Regions from separate parts of the Homo sapiens genome. Here region 1 is linked to region 2. The links are contacts of gene promoters, found by promoter capture Hi-C in human tissues and cell types (Jung and others, 2019). All regions are on one chromosome and are shown on one strand. Each heading gives the region's core, a stretch centred on a gene start or on the middle of the fragment in contact. The rest is flanking DNA. Distances are from core to core; before and after follow the strand shown. Region 1 has its middle 290 kb from the start of TFAP2C. Region 2 holds the start of TFAP2C (transcription factor AP-2 gamma).

What was found. The method cuts DNA at HindIII sites, captures the fragments that hold promoters and counts their contacts. A contact is called where the count stands out against the background at its distance.
Region 1: a contact is called between a fragment that was not itself captured here and the fragment with the promoter of TFAP2C in region 2, in 1 of the 25 tissues and cell types used here (spleen).

Annotation. Positions count from the first base shown.
Region 1 is chr20:56,912,266-56,916,380 of GRCh38, reverse strand. No RefSeq gene overlaps it. Among named protein-coding and RNA genes, the nearest start is that of TFAP2C, 290 kb to the right of the region's middle. The HindIII fragment of the contact is 7,048 bases long and covers 1-4,115 here.
Region 2 is chr20:56,627,283-56,631,362 of GRCh38, reverse strand. It overlaps TFAP2C (transcription factor AP-2 gamma), which reads right to left and starts at 2,057. Exons shown (of 7, transcript NM_003222.4): 1 at 1,771-2,057; 2 at 1-158. The coding sequence starts at 1,818. RefSeq lists silencers at 1,736-2,030, 2,087-2,146 and an enhancer at 3,510-4,080. The HindIII fragment of the contact is 13,903 bases long and covers 1-4,080 here.

The DNA of each region.
Region 1 (4,115 bases), core at 68-2,567, 290 kb before region 2:
GTCCAGGAGCCATTTGGACAGGTGAGTGTGCAGAAATCTCATGACGGGAAAAGTGTGGAGAAATCTCATCATGGGAAAAAGAGCATGTGGCACTCTTTTTTTTTTTTTTTTTTTTTTTTGAGATGGAGTCTCACTCTGTCACCCAGGCTGGAGTGCAGTTGCGTGATCTCAGCTCACTGCAAACTCTGCCTCCTGGGTTCAAGCAATTCTCCTGCCTCAGCCTCCCTAGAAGCCGGGGTTACAGTTTGCGCCCCCACACCCAGCTAATTTTTGTATTTTTAGTAGAGACAGGGTTTCACCATGTTGGCCAGGCTGATCTTGAACTTCTGACCTCAAGTGATCCACCCACCTTGGCCTCCCAAGTGCTGGGATTACAGGAATGAGCCACTGCACCTGGCCCCCTGTGGCATTTTTTAAGTGCTATGTGCTTCCATCGGTGTAATAAGAGAAGGCAGGGCGGGGGACTGCAGCTGCTTCTATATGCCTAGAATCTTCTGAATGATGCTCAAGGAGTGGTCCCAGTGGTTGACCCAGAGGAAAGAAGAGAATTATATTTTTGCTCCACATCAGGGGTTGGCAAAATTATCCAGATAATTGAGAACTCTTGAGTAATCTTGAGTAATCAAGTGTGCTTCCGAAATACATTGTGTAAAGCAGGAGTCGGCAAATCGAAGTCCTGGGCCGAATCCTGCCACCTGTCTGCTTTTGCAAATAAAGTTTTATTGGCACACAGCCAGCCCATTGGTGATGCATTGACCATGGCTGCTGTCACGTGTGGTCTGTCTGGCCCTTTACAGATAAAGCCTCATATCCCCTGCTCTTATACCTCTCTACTGTTCGAATATTTTTTGTAGATGTTAGTTTTTCATTAGGAAAACAAAAAAGGATTCAAGGGAAAACATTTTCATTTGAGTTGGCTTCATTTCCATAATTGGTTAATAAATCATCTTTCCTCATCTGGGTGGTCCAGGTGGGCAGCCAAAGGCGAAGGCGGCTGTGGAAGACCCCTCACCCTTGAGGGCCTTCTTCAGAACAGTTGGGGCCTCTGCTCCCACCATCTGAATGCTCACCAGGAATGATGCTGTTGCTGTGAGAACGCTTAGTGAAAATTTCTTTTGGGGCCTAAATTATGTTGCTCTTTCATCTGTTGTACTTTGTGGGTCACAAAACTAGTGGGGCTTCACTCTGAGTGGATGGCTACTGAGAGCTGAATTTGTTCAGTATTGGTCTCCAAGACCATCTAGCGTATGGGCATTAGTTTCCAATGACTGTAACAAGTTACCACAAACACAGTGGCTTAGAAAACCACAAATTTATTATCCCACAGTCTTAGAAGTCAGAAGTCCAAAATAAGTCTTGGGGAGCTAAAATCAAGGTGTTGGCAGGACTGCATCCCTTCTGGAGGCTCTAGAGAATTCGTTTCCTCATCTTTTCTAGCTTCTGGAGGCACCTGCTCTTTTGCAGGTTTTTAAAAGTTTTTTTCTTACAGCCTGCTCCTCCATCTTCAAAGCCAGCAGCGTAGCATCCTCCAGTCTCCCTCTGTCCCTCTCACCGACTCTTCTGTCATCAAGTGTGTTTCAGAAACACATTGTAGAAAGCAGTGTTTGGCAAACCACAGTCCCGGGGCCAAATCCTGCCAGCTGTCTGCTTTTGTAAATAAAGTTTTATTGGCACACAGCTAGCCCATTCATGATGCACTGACCACGGCTAATGTCACATGTGGTCTATCTGGCCCTTTACAGAAAAAGCTTGTAGATTAGTCTCCTTCAGTCTTTCTCTTTCACTGACACTTCTGTCTCTCTTGTATAGAGACCCTTATGAGCCAAGTGTGGTGGCTCACGCCTGTAATCCCTGCACTTTGGGAGGCCAAGGTGGGGGGAATCAGTTGATGTCAGGAGTTCAAGACCAGCTTGGCCAACATGGCAAAACCTGTCTCTACCATAAATACAAAAAACTAGCCAGGTGTGGGGGTGCGTGCCTGTAATTCCAGCTACTTGGGAAGCTGAGGCATGAGCATTGCTTGAACCTGGGAGGCAGAGGTTGCAGTGAGCCAAGATTGTGCTATTGCACTCCAGCCTGGGCAACAGAGTGAGACTCTGTCTAAAGAAAAAAAAAAAAAAGGAGGCCCTTGTAATTACATAGAGTCCATGCAGATAATCCAGGATAATCTCCTCATCTCAAGACTTAATTTAATTACATCTGCAAAGTCCTTTTGCCATGTAAGGTGACATATTCACAGGTTCCAAGGATTAGGACATGGAATCTTCTGAGGGCCACTATTCTGCCTACCGCAGCATGTTTATGTAGCCTTCTTCCCGGCTTTATCTTATATTTTTATTTATTTTCTTTTATATTTTATATGTTTCTCTATTTTCTTTTTTCCCCCAACTTCTAATTTAGGTTTCTTTCTTTTATTTTATGTATTCTTCAAGTGTCTTTAAATTCTCTTAAAAGGAAAGGTAAAAATAAATTGTTAATTTTTTTTTAACCCAGCAGGTGCTCACTAAATTGATGCCCAACCACACAAATTTCCAAGCTTGGTTCTGGGACAGCGGAGGTCAGTTTGATGAATCAGATTTTATTCCTGCTCCCAGGAGGTGAGGTGCCACCTAGGTACACCTGTCCAAGAGCAGGTGGCCTTAGGAACTCTACAGGTGGGTGAAGTGTGGGGGAGCTGTGTACCCAGCTTTGAGGAGTAGGGGAGGGCTGGGATGATTGGGGGCCTCCCTAGAGGGAGAAGGTTTTTAAGGCAGAGGAGGAAGATGAAAAGGAGGCAGTCAGATGAAGAGATGGCCTCCCTTCCCAGGGTGATATGAAATCAGTTAATCAATTCATTCATGGCTGATGATGGGGATGCTCTTATACCCTCAGCAGAAACAGGTTGAATGTTGTATGCAAGACACTTGAGGCAGTAGTGGCTCTGAGAGCTACTGACCTGGCTCAAATTCCCATCCCACCATGTCCTTGTTATGTAATCCAGTGACCCATGATCACCCAGTCTTCATGGACCTCGGTTTGTTTGTTTGTAGAATGGGGATAATCATGGTACCACTTCATGTTTCATTGGGAGGACTACACACGATGGTGCCTGCAGAGCCCTTGGGATTGGTCAGGCATGGATTGGTCAGGCATACAACACCCACAGACTGACCACGGAATCTGCAGGGCCCAGGGCAAAGTGAAAATCTGAACCCTTGTTCAAAAACTATTAAGAATGTTTTTTAAAACTGTCAAGAATTTCAAGACATTAAGAGCAGACCATTAAACCAAGCATGACTACCTGGCTTACGCCCCCATGAAGCCAGAGATAAAGAATAATCCATAAAGAGGGGGAGATAGAAATACTCATTCCCAGCTCTGGGTCTTCCAAGGAGGCAGGGAGGCTGTGGCCATCTGGGCTCCTTATAGGGGATGGAACCAAAGCGTGAGAATCCAGGAGGTATCTTTTCAAACAATTCAACTCATTTGCACAATGCCTCAGGTAAAGCTGTCTGGGCATCTCATGTGGCATGCAGACAGCGTGCCTCTGTGACTGGGGACCCATGCCCAGAGAGGGCAATGGACTTGCCCCAGTCATGATGCTGGTGACGGAGCAGAGCTCATGGATCATCACCCGTGGAGCCCACCTGCAAACATGGTCAGCTTTCTGAGCGCTTGTGCCCTCCTCTGTGAGATGGGGGCAATAGTGGTCATCATGTTCATTCGTACCACAAATTCAGGTGGAAAATCTCCTAATGCCTGGCACTGTTCTCATCTGGCAGGGAAGGCAGAGCAGGGCAGACGAAGCTCCTGGTCTCAGGGTGTTCACATTCTGGTGGCAGACAGACAATAGAGGAGAGACAAATAGGCAACCAGGAGCACTTTGGGTAGGGTGCAATGCTGCAGGGAAAACAGAACAACGTCATGGATGGCGAGTGATGAAGGAGATGCAAGGGGGAGATGTGGATGGGGCCCTCTGGAAGCAGAGCCTGAGCTGCTGGGTTTGTCAAAACGGGGCTCCCAGGAACAGGGCTGTGAGGGCAGCAGGGGCAGACGGCACGAGGGCAGCAAGGACGTGGTCTCAGCTGAGGCACCCATGAGAAGCTCTGGAGCGGGAGTCCCCCCCCTGTTGCCCA
Region 2 (4,080 bases), core at 808-3,307:
TAGGCCAGCTGCTGGTAGGGAGGGGGAAAGTAGGGTGGCGGCTGATATTCGGCGACTCCAGTGTGGGAGAGGGGTGGCGCGGGGCTGTAGAGGTGCTGCCCGGCGGAGGAGAGGTGGGGGACCCGCGGATTCCCATTGCTGCTCCCGTCGTGGCGATCCTGGAGGGAAAAAAAAAAACAGGAGACCCCGTTAGTGCGAAACCCCGCTACTGCGAACTGGCCGGCATCGCCGGGCTACGCAGAGGGCCCCGGGGGACCAACCGCACCCCGCCCGGCGGGGCTTGCCCAGGGTCGGAAGGTACCCGGGGGCAATGCGCCCCGAGGATTTCGTTGTAAGCAAAGAGTGCGGGGAGGGAGGAGAGTCTGGTGAAAGACCTGGGGGAACGAGTTCTCAAAGCCCGGCGGCGAAGGTCTAGGCGCTGCTCCCAAGCCCGAGGCGCTTGGAGGCGCCAAGTCCGAACCCTGGGTCTTGGGCCAGAAAAGTCCGTGGCCGGAGCCCGGGGCGAAGGAGCCAGAGCCCGGGGCGAAGGAGCCGGACGCCCGGTGCAGAGCTATCTCGTGGAGCCCGCCCATGACGCAGGGACTGCTGGAGGTGGCAGCGCGGCAGGCGCGGATAGAGTGCGCGGCGCGGGAAATGCGCACCTCCCCCGCCCCCGGGACCCTCCCTTCCACGCCCTCGGGACAAAGACCTCCGAGCGGGCGGCGCTCGGAAAGCAGGGCCCGCCACCCTGCGCCGCCCTGGGAAGTGAAGAGGGAGCGCGCGCACAGGGCGGCCCTCCCTGCTGGCCGGGCCCAGCCGAGGGGAGTAATAAGTGGGGGCGCCCTGCACTGCCAAGGGCAGTGTTCTCGCACGTCGGGGCGCAGAGGGGGCATGAAGAACCCTGGAAATTGGGCAGCCTTGCCCGCGCACGTTCCCTCGCCCCTGGGCGGCCCGACTCAGTTTCTAAAGGATGCGTCCCCATCTGCCCAGGGGTCTCGGGGCGCCGGGAACCTGGAGGAACATGGCGCTGTCGCCTCCTGGCGGAAGCGCCCGGGCCTGCGGGCAGGGGCAGCCCTCCAGGGCCCGGAGGCGCAGTGAACTCCCGCGAGTCCGTAGCCCGAGCTCCGCGCTCCCGGCGCCCCTGAGCTCGCCTAGCGCTGCCTGCGTCTTCTTCCTCTTCCCGCTCGCCGCCTCCTTCTTCCCTCCCACTCTCCGAAACTCTAGCTCAACCTGTCCGACAGGCTGGAGCACTCGCGAGCTCTTACGGCCCCATCTGGCCTCGGGCACCCCCACCACCACTCCCCAGCCCCCACTTCTTTTGAAAGCCAAACTTCGGTTGTTTTCGTGCTTCCCCGAGGAGGTAGCGGGGCAGGTGACAAGCCGGCCTTGGAGGAGTGTCCGCCAAGGTGTCGCTAGCAGGTAGCCTCATCTGACCCCTTTGGACAGAGACTTCGTGCGTAAAAGCCACGTCTGAGGGTTGCAGACGGGGCACTTTTCCGAGAAAACGGGAAGCAGGGCTGTTTGCCGCTTAGGAAAGCGCCCGGTAAGCTGTGTGGGTGGGATTTGCCATTCTCTTTCCAGGCCTCGTTCCCGAGGGGAGGCTATTTAGGAAAAGGCCCTATACAGGAAAGGGGCCCCGCAGAAATGGACTAAGGGGTGTCCGGAGAAGTGGATCCCGTCCCACCGAGAGGCCAGGGCTCCTATGCCCTCGTCCCCGACCTCGGTCCAGTGGCCCCTGCCTCCCGGACTGTCCTCGGCGGGGCGGGGCTGCACCCCGGAGCCCCAGCTCACCTCGCAGTCCTCTTCGTACTTGACATTATCGGTTATTTTCCACAACATGGCGTCCGGCGTCCCCCAAAACAGTCGCCAGTTAAATCCAGGATCCCCCCAGCCCCCAAGCGGTAAATCCAAAATCGGGGTCACGGTGACCAGGCGTCTGCCGCCGCCCCCGCCGCGCGCGGGCCTTGCTGTCCGGGTCACTGGACACGCATCGGCGGCTCTGCGAGCGTAGATGCTGCCGCCGCGAGTGTCAAGACCGCTCCGCGGACGGGGAAAGCCGCGCCCGAACAGTGTGTCCTGGCGATAGCCGGGGGACCCGAGCGCCTTAATGAGAAGGAAATTATCATAACTCCTCCCCGGGGGCCGGCGCGGAGGCCCAGGCGCCGGGCGGGGCGGCCCCCAGCCAGTCCCAGCCTAGCTCCGCCCCGCACCCGGGCCTGGCGCAGCGCCGAGCCCCACGCTGTGAGGGACGAAGCGCGGAGTCAGTGGGCGGTGCCTCGTTGACAGCCGAAGACCTGCGAGGCCTGGGTCCCCCGACGCGCCTTCCTTCTGTCACCTCCACCGTAAACACACCTGAGATTGGCAGAGCTGGGGGAAGGGATCCAAATACTGAAACCCACCCCTCTTTCGCCTAAACGGCCTTCACTCGTTCCTCCAAAAGACGGATGTCACCTGGAGTTAAGAAACTGCGCATTTGGGGAGCGACTCAACAACCGGGGTCTCCTCATCTCCTAAAAACACATCCCATCCCACCTACACCCCACTGAGGCTTAAGGTCTGAGCTGGGATCATGCAGCTGGAGCCCCAGTGCGCCAGAGACGCCCAGTTCCCTCCGTGGGCACAGCGCGGTCCCGGCCCCCGGGCGGGAGGAGAGAGGAAGGGACTCCTGGGGAGTCTGCCCCAAGGGCCGCAGAGGCAGCAGACGGTCCTACCCGCCCAGGAGTTGCGGACAGCGGCGTCTCGCCGCTGTCGCCCGAAGTGGCATCTCCCGCGGCTGGCTGAGGCCAGGGGGAACCCGCGCGCACTGGACCAGCCCAGCGGCCCGGCCCTGCCCTGCCCTGCGGAACGCCGGCTCTGCAGCTGCCTCTGGCGGGCCGGTCACTCAGAAGCCTCTACTCGCCCTGGGAAAGAAGCGCCGGGCAGGAATAAAACCCGAGCGCCACGGGTAAGGTGAGGGTGAGGAGGTGCAGGAAGTTGGGAGAGAGCCTGCAGAGAGCTCTCGACTGGAGAGGTAGACACCCAGGTCCCACATGTTTAGACAGAAAACGAAACTTCCTTCCACACAAACGCTGCTTCCCTCTCCCCTTCGGTACTTGCCACCCAAACTTGAAAGCAAAGTGCAATACTAATTTTTAAAATTTAAACTAACGAAATTCTTTGGCCCAGTTATTATGCAGCAATTGACTTTCATTGTAAGGGGAACATCGCTAATTCTCGAGGGCGTATTTGTTGGGACGCCCCAACTGGCTCCCTGGGCTGGATTTAAACATTCTGTGGGGATTAGAGGACAAGACTATTTCTATTTGATACTGAATACGATTTTGCAATAATCAATGCCTATCAGTACGGTGTCCGCACCTGCAGTAGACATGACTCTCCCATCCACGGAATGGCGGCATCCACTGCCTCGCTGTTCCTTCTCGGGTTCGTTTGAACTTTAGCATTTATTTAGACCCAGGTGGGCCTAAAAGAAAATAATAATAATAGGCGTCCTCCAAGGGAAACTTTCCCCCGGCCTTAGACAGCAGCCAAATCCCAGGTGATTTTCCGACCGGACGCGGGAACAAAATCTGGAAGTTGAAACCACTGAGACTTTTCGGCCAAGCATATCTGCAGGGCTTTGCACTAAGGAGAACAGTGCATAAAAAGACACACAGGACCCTGACACTTCGGTCCCAAAACAGGCTTCTGGGGGTAAAATAAGTTACCGCAGAAGCAGCGCTCCTGGTATTAGCGGCGGGGGAGGGGGACACCTGCCAGAAGCAGAAATTAGACCCAGGCCCGCAGGCACTCCAGAGCACAGGTCCAGGAAGATGGGTCCTAGACTCGCCAGAGGTGCGGCGCCTCTTTCGGGCGCCTGGGACTCCCTGACGGGTGCCGCTGGGCTGTCCGACATTCTGGGCCTTCTAGCCCTCGGTTTTATTCTCTGACCCGGCCTGAGGTGCAGCTTGAACAAGCTGTCTTGTCTGTGCTGGCAAGTTTACCTCCTGCACGCTGGGGCCCGGAATGGGCAAGAAGGTGCTCATCCCCCATCCCAGGCCCTGGCTCTCCTTTCCCACAGCAACACTAGCCAAAGCTGCCCGGAGGAACCGATATGCCTCC